Regions from separate parts of the Homo sapiens genome. Here region 1 is linked to region 2. Evidence: promoter capture Hi-C in human tissues and cell types (Jung and others, 2019). All regions are on one chromosome and are shown on one strand. Each heading gives the region's core, a stretch centred on a gene start or on the middle of the fragment in contact. The rest is flanking DNA. Distances are from core to core; before and after follow the strand shown.

Region 1 (7,026 bases), core at 4,512-7,011, 300 kb before region 2:
GCAAAGAAAGAATAAGAAATAAAATAGATTTCTTCTTCTTTATCTACACTCACTGCTCTACCTTTCTAATGACAGCTTCAGTTGCTATGATGCACAGTATACAAAAGTTTCTAATCACAGCATTATTACTAAAAGCTCTAATTATACATGTTAATTATTTTATGTCAAGAGACACTTTCTCAGATTCAGTAAGAGGAGATACTAAATTTTAAACTACAAGTATTACCAAATCTATTTGAACCAGAGAAGCAATTTGTTATAAATTACATTAGATTAGCTGCTAGTCATAAGGGAACTTCAGAGGTAAGCCTATTGAGGAGACTAGAACACCCCAATCTATTTCTAGGCCTGTGCTCCAAGAAAGTTGGCTAGCAAAGGATGAGGGAGTGAGTATATGCAAACTCAGTTGGACTCTAAGGTACCCTTAAAATCCACAGGGTCCAATGCACTCTATGGAACATAACATTTTTGACATTTGGGGTACAAGTGATACTGTGGTCTGAATGCTTGTGTCCCTCAAAGTTCATTTGTTGAAACCTAATTACCAATGTGATGATATTAGGAGGTGGGGCCTTTGGGAGGTGATTATATCATAAAGGTGGGGTCCCCATTAATGGGATTTGTGACCTTATAAAAGAGGACCCAGAAAGCTGCCTTCATTCTTCTACCATGTGAGGACATGGCTATCAGGGACCATCTATGCACCAGACAGTGGACCTTCACCAGATACCGGGTCTGTCAGCACCTTGATCTTGGATTTCTTAGCCTCTAGAACTATAAGAAATAAATTTCTGTTATTTATAAGCTACTCGGCCTTTTGCATTTTGTTATAACAGGCCAAACAGACTAAGACAAGTGATATTAATGGTCAGTAAGAAAAAGCATTTGACAAATGGATACCAAATGGATATTGGTATCCATTCCTCATAAACAAACAAACAAACAAACAAAAAAACTCCCCAGTAAATGTAGAGGAACTTCCTCAATCTGATAAAGGACATCTATGAACAACCTACAGCTAATTCCCACTTAATGGTGAAAGGGAGATGCTTTCCTTCAAAGATCAGGAACAGAAACAAGAACATCTGCTCTATTCAATAGTGTATTGGAAGTTCATAACTATTGAAATAAAGAAGAAAAAAGAAACTAAAGGCATCTAGATTGCAAAGATAGGAGTCAAAACTATCCTTGTTCACAGATGACATGATTGACTGTCTCAAAAAATCCAATGGAATCTACAAAGTTTCTAGAACTAATAAGTAGATTTAGCAAGGTTGCAGAATACAAGGTCAATATGAATAATAACCAAAAATCAGTCGTAGTTCTCTATATTAGTCTCACACAGTAACAATACCATAAAAATATGCAGTATTTAGGAATAAATATAACAAAAATGTGAAAGACCTATGCACTGAAAACTATAAAACATTATTGAGAGAAATTAAAGAAGACTGAAGTAACTAGAGAGACATGCCATATTTATATGTCAGAACAGTCAGTGTTGTTAAGGGTGTCATTTTGTAATCCCTATCAAAATCCCAGCATACTTTTTTGTAAAAATTGAGAAACTGATTCTAAAATTTCTATTGAAACACAAAACACCTAGAATATCTTTATAAGTCTTGAAATCAGGTAGTGTTACTCTTCCCATTTTGTTTTTCTTTCAGAAAGAAGAAGTGGCAAGGCTAATACTACCTGATTTCAAGATTTATAAAGCTACAGTAATCAAGACTACACATACACAGACAGCTGATTTTCAACAAAAGTGCAAAGGCAATTCAGTGGAGAAAGGATGGTCATTTTGACAAATACTTCTGGAAAAATTGGATGTCCATAAGTAAAAAACTAAACTTTGATCCCAACTACACTCTGTATACACAAGTTAATTCAAAATAGTTCATAGGTATAAATGTAAAAGCTAAAGTTATAAAACCTCTAGAAGAAAGCCTTTGTGGCTTTAAGTTAGACAAAGATTTCTTTCATGTGACACCAAAAGCACAATCCATAAAGGAACAAACTGATAAATAGAACTTCATCAAAATTAAGAACTCTGCACTTCAAAGACACTGATTAGAGAATGAAAAAACCAGGCATGCTTAGAAGAAAATATTTGCAAATCATATATCTGATACAGGATTTATATCCAGAATACATAAAGAATTTTTGAGCGTCAATAAGAAAACAGCTCAATTTTTAAAAAGATAAATCATTTACATAAATGCTTCACTACAAAACGTATACGGATACCCAGTCAGTACAGGAAAAGAAGCTCAACATCCTTACTGATTAGGAAAATGCAAGTTAAAACCACAATGAGACACTGCTACACAGCTATTAAAATGGCTAAAATTAAATGGACTGCATAGACTGACCATGGACTCCTAGGTATTTACTCAGGAAATAAAGCATACATCCACACAAAGAATTGTACATGAATGTTCATAAAAGCTTTGTAGCTAAAAAAGAAATCAAATGTTCTTCAACAGATGAATGGGTGAACTATGACATATCCATACAATTAAATACTACTCTTCAATAAAAATGAGTTACTGATAACATGCAACAACATAGAGGAATTTCAGGATAATTACACAGAATGAAAGAAGCCCAACAAAAAGTACATTATGTATGCTTCCATTTATAGAAAGTTCTAGAAAGTGAAAATTAATCTATAGTGACAGAAAGCAGATCAGTGGTTGTTTCCCATTGGGATGCTGGGTAAGGAAATGAACAAGATGGAGGAATTATAAAGTGGCATGAGGAAACTTTAGGGGTAATGGATAGGTTTATTATTTTGATTCAGGTGATAGTTTTACAGGTTTATGCATGTCAAAATTTTCAAAATGCATACTTTAAATATGTGCCACTTACTATTTTGTGGCACGTATTTATCTTATGGCAATTAAACCTAAATAAAGATGTTGAATTTTTTAAAAATACCAGTACTAAAATAACAGCTGCCAACCCACCCTTGGTTGTCTTTTTGTATGTATGTATGTATGTATGTATGTATGTATGTATGTATGTATGTATGTATGCATGTATTTTTTTGAGACAGAGTCTCACTCTGTTGCCCAGGCTGGAGTGCAGCGGTGTGATCTCGGCTCACTGCAAGCTCCACCTCCCAGGTTCACGCCATTCTCCTGCCTCTGGAGTAGCTGGGACTATAGGCACCTGCCACCACGCCCAGCATGTACTTTTCCACATAAGTAGATTTTCCAGATAACTGAGGCTTAGTATTTACTCCATTGGAAACTGCTTATTTTAACCATTTTAAAAGTAAACCTTTAAAAAATGTATCACAGCCTCCTTTGAATGTTGAATCAAAGACTACAGAAACTGAGTTACCTTTTCTATATATCACAGACTACCATGACAGGCAGCTGCAGCAGAGGGGAAAAAGTATTATATTTGGAGTTATTTGATATTATGTTCAGGTTTATAGCTTGCTTCCTTTCACAGGTAATTTGAGGCGCTTTGCGAAATTATATTTAATTCAAAAGGAAAAGAACAAATTATCGAAGGAAAGAGAAAATACAGATTAGCAAGTACTAAAGCTAGGGAAAATATTAGTGAACTGGAATATTGTCATAATCAATGCTCTTATTGTAAGTGACAGAAATCCATTTTGAAATCGCTAAGCACCAAATAGAAAATAATTGCCATGTAAAAACGATGGCAGTAATGAAGAATGGTGGAAATGGTATTGAGATTAATACCATGAGGACCCTCTCTGTATGCTCTTGCTTCTGATTCTCTGTGTTTGCAGGCTTCTTTCCTTCACTGCATTAAGGGAGTGAGAAAAAAATAAGAACATAGAAGACCTAAATATTATTATTATTATTATTATTTTGAGACAGAGTCTTGCTCTGTCACCCAGGCTGGAGTAAAATGGCACGATCTCAACTCACTGCAACCTCCGCCTCCCGAGTTCAAATGATTCTCCTGCCTCAGCCTCCCAAGTAGCTGGGATTATGGGCACCCGCCACCATGCCTGGCTTATTTTTGTATTCTTTAGTTAAGATGGGGTTTCACCATGTTGGTCAGGCTGGTCTCGAACTCCTGACCTCAGGTGATCCACCCGTCTAAGCCTCCCAAAGTGCTGGGATTACAGGTGTGAGCCACCACACCTGGCACTAAATATTATTAAAAGGCATAATTTGCAGATATGCATTCTATAATCAGAGAACAGAAAATCAACCTTTACAAGATTACTTGAAATATTCAGAAAAAATGAGCATATATTAGTCCGTCGAAAATATTAAATTCTAAAAATATTGAGTAGAGGGTGGCTGGTAAGATGGCCAAATAGAGACAGCTCTGGTCTGCAGTTCCCAGTGAGATCAATGCAGAAGGCGGGTGATTTCTGCATTTCCAACTGAGGTACCTGGCTCATCCCATTGGGACTGATTAGACAGTGTCTATAGCCCACAGAGGGTGAGCAGAAGCAGGGTGGGGTGTTGCCTCACCTAGGCAGTGCAAGGGATCGGGGAACTCCCTCCCCTAGCCAAAGGAAGCCATGAGGGACTGTGCTGTGAGGAACAGTGCATTCCAGCCCAGATACTATGCTTTTTCCATGGTCTTCACAACCCTCAGACCAGCAGATTCTCTGTGGTGCCTATGCCACCAGGGCCCTGGGTTTCAAGCACAAAACCGGGCGGCCATTTGGGCAGACACCGCGCTAGCTGCTGGAGTTCCTTTTCATACCCCAGTGGTGTCTGGAATGTCAGCAAGACAGAACTGTTCACTCCCCTGGAAAGGGGGCTAAAGCCAGGGAGCCAAGTGGTCTAGCTCAGTGGATCCCACCCCCACAGAGACCAGCAAGATAAGATCCACTGGTTTGAAATTCTCGCTGCCAGCACAGCAGTCTAAAGTTGACCTGAGATGCTCCAGCTTGGTGGGGGGAGAGGTGTCCGCCATTTCTGGGGCTTGAGTAGGTGGTTTTCCCCACACGTTATAAATAAAGCCACCAGGAAGTTTGAACTGGGCAGAGCCCATCACAGCCTGGCAAAGCCGCTGTAGCCAGACTGCCTCTCTAGATTCCTCCTCTCTGGGCAGGGCATCTCTGAAAGAAAGGTAGCAGCCCCACTCAGGGCTTATAGATCAAACTCTCATCTCCCTGGGACAGAGCACCTAGGGGAAGGGGCGGCTGTGGGTGCAGCTTCAGCAGACTTAAATGTTCCTGCCTGACAGCTCTGAAGAGAGCAGCAGAGCTGCCAGCACAGTTCTTGGGCTCTTCTAAGGGACAGACTGCCTCCTCAAGTGGGTCCCTGACCCCCGTGAATCCTGACTGGGAGACACCTCCCAGCAGGGGTTGACAAACACCTCATACAGGAGAGCTCTGGCTGGCATCTGGCAGGTGCCCCTCTGGGACAAAGCTTCCAGAGGAAGGAACAGGCAGCAATCTTTGCTGTTCTGCAGCCTCCACTGGTGATACCCAGGCAAACAGGGTCTGGAGTGGACCTCCAGCAAACTCCAGCAGACCTGCAGCAGAGGGGCCTGACTGGTAGAAGGAAAACTAACAAACAGGAATAGCATCAACATCAACAAAAAGGACATTCACAACAAAACCCAATCCAAAGGTCACCACATCAAAGACTTTGGTATTTGATAAATCTTTGGAGATAAATCCATGAAGATGGGGAGAAACCAGCACAAAAATGCTAAAAATTCCCAAAACCAGAAAGTCTCTTCTCCAAAAGATCACAACTCCTCTCCAGCAAGAGAATAAAACTGGATGGAGAATGAGTTTGATGAAGTGACAGAGTAGGCTTCAGAAGGTGGGTAATAACAAACTCCTTCAAGCTAAAGAAGCATGTTCTAACCAAAAGCAAGAAAGCTAAGAAATTTGAAAAAAGGTTAGATGAATTGCTAACTAGAATAACCAGTTTAGAGAAGAATATAAATGACCTGATAGAGCTGAAAAACACAGCACGAGGACATCATGAAGCATACACAAGCATCAATAGCCAAATCGATCAAGCAGAAGAAAGGATATCAGAGATTGAGGATCATCTTAATGAAATAAAGCAGGAAGAGAAGGTTAGAAAAAACAGAATGAAAAGGAATGAACCAAAGCCTCCAAGAAATATGTGACTGTGTGAAAAGACCAAACCTATGTTTGATTGGTGTACCTGAAAGTGATGGGGAAAATGGAACAAAGGTGGAAAACACTCTTCAGGATATTATCCAGGAGAACTTTCCCAACCTAGCAAGACAGGCCAACATTCAAATTCAGGAAATACAGAGAACAACACAAAGATACTCCTCGAGAAGAGCAACCCCAAGACACATAAACATCAGATTCACCAAGGTTGAAATGAAGGAAAAAATGTTAAGGGTAGCCAGAGAGAAAAGTCAGGTTATCCACAAAGGGAAGCCTATTAGACTAACAGCAGATCTCTCTGCAGAAACCCTGCAAGCCAGAAGAGAGTGGGGCCAATATTCAACATTCTTAAGGGAAGAATTTACCCAGAATTTCATATCCAGCCAAACTAAGCTTCATAGGCAAAGGAGAAACAAAATCCTTTACAGACAAGCAAACGCTGAGAGATTTTGTCACCACCAGGCCTGCCTTACAAGAGCTCCTGAAGGAAGCACTAAACATGGAAAGGAACAACTGGTACCAACAACTGCAAAAACATACCAAATTGTAAAGACCATTGACACTATGAAGAAACTGAATCAACTAACAGGCAAAATAACCAGCTAGCATCATGATGACATGATCAAATAATAATATTAACCTTAAATGTACCTGCACTAAATGCCCCCAATTAAAAGAAACAGACTGGCAAATTGGATAAATAGTCAAGTCCCATGGGTGTGCTGTACTCAGGAGACCCATCTCACATGCAAAGACACACATAGGCTCAAAATAAAGGGATGGAGGAAAAGTTACCAAGCAAATGGAAAGAAAAAAAAGGGGGGGATGTTGAAATCCTAGTCTTTGATAAAACAGACTTTAAACCAACAAAGATCAAAAGAGACAAAAAGGGGCATTACAGAATGGTAAAAGGGATCAAT
Region 2 (6,532 bases), core at 722-3,221:
GAATATTCTTATGAAAAAAATGAATTTGCTTCCTACTTTGTATTAGCCACCAAAATAGTTATATGCAAAAATATAGATGAATTTCACAAAAATTTAAGCAAAAAGAAATACATACGGTAATACCCTATTCAAATAAAATTAAAACAAAATTAAACTATAGTACAAGAAAAGTCAGGATTGCAGTTAATTTGGGCAGAAAAAAGTGTTTGTAACTGGCAGAGGGTATAAGAGGAGTTTCTAGGGAGCTGGGAAAGATTTCATTTCTTTGCCTAGAGGGTGAGATGGTGGTAGCATAAAAAGTAGTTGGACACATTCATTCATTCAACAAATAGTTATTGAGAAATCACTATATATCAGGCATTGCACTAGATCTGGGTCATCAAAGGGGAATAAATATAGGCCTGATCCCTGCCCTGGCCCTGCTTACTTCTGATAGCAGACAGACAAAAACAATTAATGAACACAGATAAATATATACAATCACCTCACAGTCACCTCGTAGGGTAAGTGCTCTGAGAGATACCCTTGTCTTGCTACACAAGGGGGACTCTTTCCTTATTGGGGGTGGGGATGAAGAGGAAAGCCATTAGGTCTTTCACTGGACTGAATCATAAAAATAGCTCAGAATTGCATTTCTCCTTTTTCTCACCCCAAAGAAGTAGTGGTTACTCCTTTTATCTCTAATGGTTCCAATGTCATTTTAGATCTACACTTAGGTACACCTAGGAATCCCATCTGACATTTAGAAATTCCATCTCTTAATCCGAGGAAAATCTTGGCTTGAAAGTAATGGCACCAGCCCCTTAAAATGGCACCTATGTGCGAATACCACTAATTTTTAGTTAATTTTAGGGCTGTTACTCTAAAACAAAAAAGTTCTTTTGAAATTCTAATTCAAAAAGCAATGAGTTTTAAAATAACCCTTTCCATGTTATAAAATACTTATATGCTCATTGTAGAACATCTGGGAAATCAGAAAACTGTAAAAAAAATTTTTTTAAACCCTCAAAAATCCATAAGTCTATCAATAGCTATCAATTCTATCTATAGCTACTGTAAACGTTGTGGTACATCTCTTTCAATATTTAAGTGCCTTGATATATTTATTTTCACGGTTGAGATCAGAATTTGTGGTTTTGCAACCCGAATTTTCCATTTAAAAATATAATAAGAACTTACTTCCCCAGTCATTAATCTTCCTAAACATAATTCTTAAGTTTGTAAAAAATCCATCCTACAGATACACCTAAAAGTCAGTTTATTTACTTTGTTTCCCCAGGAAAGAATCCTACATGACCATGGTTCTGGGCCTGTGTAAGTGCTGCCTTGTGAACAGTGTAGATAAGATCACAGAATCATCCTCCAAATAAAGTACTTAAAGCCAATGTAAAAGTTTTTCGAAGGCAAAGGGGCACTGTGAATCCAGCATTTTCCAGTGTTCCCTAGACGTGAATCATCTCAAAGAGAGGCCATTATTCGAGTGCAACAGGGCTCCACGCCTCCAGCGATGTCAAAGTTCTGCTAAGCGTCCAAAACCTAGCAAAAGGTTCCAATGGGCCATTGGAACTCGGCGGCCGCGGCGGAGGCTGCTCCCAAGGCGGCAGCAATCACACCGGGACCGGCTGCAGAGTTCCCAGTCCCGCGGAGCGCTAGCTGCCGGGCGGACGCGGAAGCCCGAGAGTCCTGGTCTTCCCGTCCAAGTTTAATCCGCGCCTACGCGGTAAATTCCTGGAGGTGCTCCCAGCCTAGCCCGCTGCGCCCGGCTCCGCGCCTGGGCAACCCGGGCTCCCTCCCGTCCCTGGCGCCCTCCGCACCCGCCTAAGGCGCGGCGGTCGAGCCCTGGCTGCGCCCTGTGGGCGCGCTCCTCCGAATCCCAAGTTCGGGTCGCGAGTCTGAACTTGGGAGGAACGCGCCCCGGGTCCCCGCCCTTCCCGGACTGCCCGATCCCCATCCCCCGCAACCGGGAGCGCGCAGGCGCAGCCGGCCGGCAGTCCCGTCAGCTGTCCCAGAGCCTGTGTCGCGCCCGTGCCGGTAGCGCCCGTGCCGGTAGCGCCGCTGCCACCGCTCACCATGGGCCCGGGTCCTCGGCTGCTGCTACCTCTCGTGCTTTGCGTGGGGCTCGGCGCACTTGTGTTTTCTTCGGGGGCCGAGGGCTTCCGCAAGCGAGGCCCCTCGGTGACGGCCAAGGTGACCGAGAGCGGCGGGCTGCAACTTCCCCTGTTGCGGGCGGGGCCCTGGGGGCGCTTTGGATACTGGGACCTCGGTGTCAGGGCGGGCGAGGTGGAGGCTTCCCGGGCGCAGGGGGACTGGAGGCGGCCGCGGGACTGGGTGGGAGGGGGCTGCTCGCGTGCTGGGAGGCCGGCGCTCCGGGGGAGACCCTGGGGGAGCTGGGCTGAGGCCAGCCTACCTCCGCCGCAGTCTGCTTGGACTTCTTGTCCCGGGTCGGTAGTCCGAGGTGACCAGCCTGGGGGTAGGAGAGGCTTCCGGAACCGGCGGGCCCGTTCTCCAGGAAAGAGACTGCCCAAGTACTTCCTTCAGCGTGGCCTGGGCTCGGGAGCAGAACGAGAGGAATGCGGGGAGGGGGGCGGGACCCGCACAGGAGAGGCGCTCGGAGCCCAGGGCTTGCAGCCGCCCGCCCGCTGCGTGGTCTCCACGCTGGCCGCGGTGGCTTCAGGCAGGCATTAAAGCGCCTGGTTCAGATGAGAGACTACCCTCCGCCTCTTTTGGGGAACCGTCGTCCTTCCCGGGAAGGGGAGGTGCGCCTTCAACTTCGGCGGGCGGGCGGCCCCTGCTGTGGGCTACGCGAGGCCGGGCGAAGGCGGCACCTGTAGACCTGGGGCAGCCTCCACTGCGGGGAAAGGGGGCGGGGGGCTGCCAGAAAGTGCGTCTTTAAGGCTTCCTCGTACTTAACTCCGCTTCAGTTCTTTTTTCAGCGTATTTAACCAAGGGTAGACGATAATGGGAGAATGCAGGGAGAGGGAGGGGATAATTTGGTGCCCATGATCACCACTTCTAGAAAACCCACTGGCAATAGTGTCTTCGAAGCTGAAGCTGGAGGGGGCGGGCTGCAGCTGAAAGTGGTCTTCATCAGTCTGGGGTTTGTCAATGGAAACGATACTAATCAACGAGTAGAATGCTTACATCCTCGACCGCAGACGCCACCTGAGGACGGGGAGGACTAGGGGGTGGGGAGGAGGAGGTCCAGCTCAGCATCTGATGTCGCAGAAAGGCCGTGCCACGTTGTGGGCGGGGCTGATAAACAGCCTGATGGTTTCGAGAAGCTCTGATCTTACTCCCAGCCTCTTGATCTTGTAGGCATGTCTAACTTTGGGAAATGGTTTGTGCAAGGCCACAGAGCTGAACGGGGTCTCTTGGGATAAAGCCATAAACATAAAATTCGCACAATTATGAAATGTTGGAGGAAATAAACTGTAATATACTTTGGGTGACATTTAAAAATAGCTGAAAAATGAGAAAAACCAGCGCAGAGAAGACTAAGGAGGCAAAGGGAACTGCATATGCATAGGTCCTCAAACAGGAAAGCCCTCCCTGCATTCAGAGGATGTGGAGAGGACGGAATGGCTTCAGCACAGAATGAGAGGTGACTTGAGATGAGGTTGGAGGGGTGAGCAGCAGCGGAATCACACAGGGCCTTAGAGGCTGCAGGTAGGCATGCGGGTATTGAGGCAATTCTTAAAATTTGAAGTGTTATTCTGCAGTCAGAGCCACTGAAGGGTTTTAAGCATAAGAATGGCATGATCTCAATATATACTCGAGAAATTTATGTGGTCACTCAGTGGAGAGTGAAATGGGAGGTCATTCAGGGCACCATGCCAGAGTCCAGATGGTGGCTTGGATTAGGGTGGTAATCATTGAAATGGGGAGCAAGGGAAGGACTTGAAATAGATTTTGGAGATATAACTAACAGGAGTTGCTGACGGTTTAGAAAGGGGGCGAGGGAGAGGGAATAGGATTGCCAAATAAAATACAGGATGCCCAGTTAGATGTGAATATCAGATTAACAATGAATAAATGTTTTTAGTGTAAGTACGTCCCCTGCAATATTTGGGAACAGGTTTCACCTGGGAAACTTCTTAAACTTACTGATGCAGTGACCCACCCCAGAGCAAGTCAATCACAATCTGTATGGGTGGGGCTCAGTATCCTATCTTTTAGAAGCTTTTGGTGATTCTGATGTGCAGGCAGTGTGGGCGGGGAACCACTGGAAGATGGAGCCAAGAGAGGAGGAAGCTGGTGGCTGCAGGAGGGGAAGGGTTTGAGCATCCTAAACCCTTGTCTGTGACACTGTCACTGAGGGAGAGTTTGCATGCACCCTACTCTCAGAATTGTTACTTAACATGTCTTTTTTCCCCCTACCAAATTTGTCATTAAGTTTTTCTAAAAGCTGATTGTGTAGGTGCGTCTTAAACAGATTCTGCTCTGTTAAATTACTTTTTCATGAACTTGTAAAGACAACTAAATCTATTGGAAAATGACGTTAAAAATAATTTCTCTGAGTGCAGACAAGTACATTAATTGGCCATTGCTCTAGTGTATTGTTTTCCCCAGCAGTGTTTTTGTTTACCTCTGATTTCATTTAAAAATAGGAATCTGTAAATAAGAGAGGTGTGAGGTGCTATTCTGCCCACATGGCCCATTAGTGGCACTAACTTGGTCCACAGATCCTGCTGCTGGGCCAGCCTGGCAGCTTCCTGCCCCAGCCATAGAGGCTCAGGTGGGGGCTCTGGCTCATTGGGCTCCAAATCCACAGAATTACATTTGCTGACCTATATTTCTGAACCAATGCCATGGGATCTGTGCAGGATCCGGCATCGGGAGTGTATGAAATAATGCCACCATCCTTCCAGCTGCACACATATTACAGCTTGCAAGCACATTAGCATGTAGTGGCCAGGAGGCTGTGGCTAGATGGCCTTAGACAAGTTATCTAATGTCCACAGCTCAGTTTCCTCCTTTGTCAAATGGAGATAGAAATCATCCCTACCTGGGAGGGCTTTGCACATTAGATGTGGTAAAGCAGATGTCTTAGTCCATTTATGTTGCTATAAAAGAATACTTGAGGCTGGGCAATTTATGAAGAAAAAAGGTTTATTTAGCTCACGGCTCTGCTATGAGCTGTAAGATTCAAGACTGGGCATCTGGTGACAGCCTCAGGCTGCTTCCAGTCACGGCGGCGGAAGGTGATAGGGAGCAGGCAGGTGCAGATCACGTGGAGAGAGAGGAAGCTGAAGGGGGTGGTGCCAGCTTCCTTTTAAAACCAGTTCTCATGGGAACTAACAAAGTGAGAACCCATTCACTACTGAGATGGCACCAAGCCATTCATGAGGGATCTACACCCATGACTCAAACACCTCGCATTAGGCCCCACCTCCAACATTAGGATCAAATATCCAAACCATAGCAGCAGGTAAAGCACATAGTCCATAGTCCCTGATTTCAGAAGTCACTTGTTAGTGTTATTTGTGTTTATCTTCTTAATCCTACTGTGACAGAGCAGACCTGAAAGGAATCATCATTTATTTTACAGATGAAGAAAGGGAGTTCAGAGTTTAATTAACTTGCTGAAGTTTCCATGGCCATTGAGTGGTGGAGCTGCATTTGAGAACAGTTTCTTCCACATCGCAGCTCATGTACTGGGTGTGTTCCCTAGTTACTTTGGAAATGGAATCAGGATTAATTCCACAGGGGTTTGGGTCAGGCTGTGTAAGTGCCTCCTCCCTCTTCCTCTACCTCCTCCCATCTCCAATGCCGAGTAATTTTCAAATGACTTTCAAGGGCAGCCTTGAGGGAAAAAACAAGTGACTGAGGTGCTCACCCCAAAGTCTAGCATGGAATCCAATATCACCTTTCCCAGGAAGCCCACACTTATCTCCACAGATAATCACCACCCCTTACCATGACACCTTATCTGTACTTGTCTTATAAAATCTGACTTCTCATTATATTATAGCATTCATATATGTGTTTTCTGTTGGACTGAAGCTCCTTGAGGGTAGGAGCTTTGTAGCCCCACCCCACCCCTGGCCCAGCACTGGGTTTTGTTCCCAGAGGCACTCAGCAACATCAGAGATGAATCCAGTGGTGAGAGGGTTTAGAGTGAGAGTGTTTGCTGGCAGCTGTCTCACCTCCTGTCTAGGAATGTGTGTGCCCAGGTCCTCCTTGAGTATCATTTGACATTGAATCTTTTAACATTTCTTGACTGCCTCCTCCTGCTGACCTTTAGCTGGCCACTGGGGAACTAAAAACACTGTTTCTACTCCTTAGGGTTTCCCTGGCTCGACCCGGAGAGCCCTATTAACAATAAACCAGTTTAGCTAGAGGCAGCCTTGAAATTCTGGCTCTCACACTCATAGTAGGGAAACCTTGGTAAATCACTTAACCTCCCTAATTCCCACTTTTCTCATTTGTAAATTAGTGATAATAGTTCCTGTCCCACCTTTCCCAGTGTGGTGAGGATGAATTATATAAGATGATGTGGGTTACCCACACTGAGACCACCACTAAGTCATGT

What was found. The method cuts DNA at HindIII sites, captures the fragments that hold promoters and counts their contacts. A contact is called where the count stands out against the background at its distance.
Region 1: a fragment that was not itself captured here is called in contact with the fragment with the promoter of PPIC in region 2 in 2 of the 25 tissues and cell types used here (spleen and stomach).

The regions. Positions count from the first base shown.
Region 1 is chr5:123,333,072-123,340,097 of GRCh38, reverse strand. No RefSeq gene overlaps it. Among named protein-coding and RNA genes, the nearest start is that of CEP120, 87 kb to the left of the region's middle. The HindIII fragment of the contact is 3,696 bases long and covers 3,914-7,026 here.
Region 2 is chr5:123,032,164-123,038,695 of GRCh38, reverse strand. It overlaps PPIC (peptidylprolyl isomerase C), which reads left to right and starts at 1,971. Exons shown (of 5, transcript NM_000943.5): 1 at 1,971-2,187. The coding sequence starts at 2,071. PPIC-AS1 (PPIC antisense RNA 1) reads right to left here and starts at 2,774. Exons shown (of 2, transcript XR_001742868.2): 1 at 2,408-2,774. RefSeq lists silencers at 1,745-1,794, 3,103-3,275. The HindIII fragment of the contact is 11,652 bases long and covers 1-6,179 here.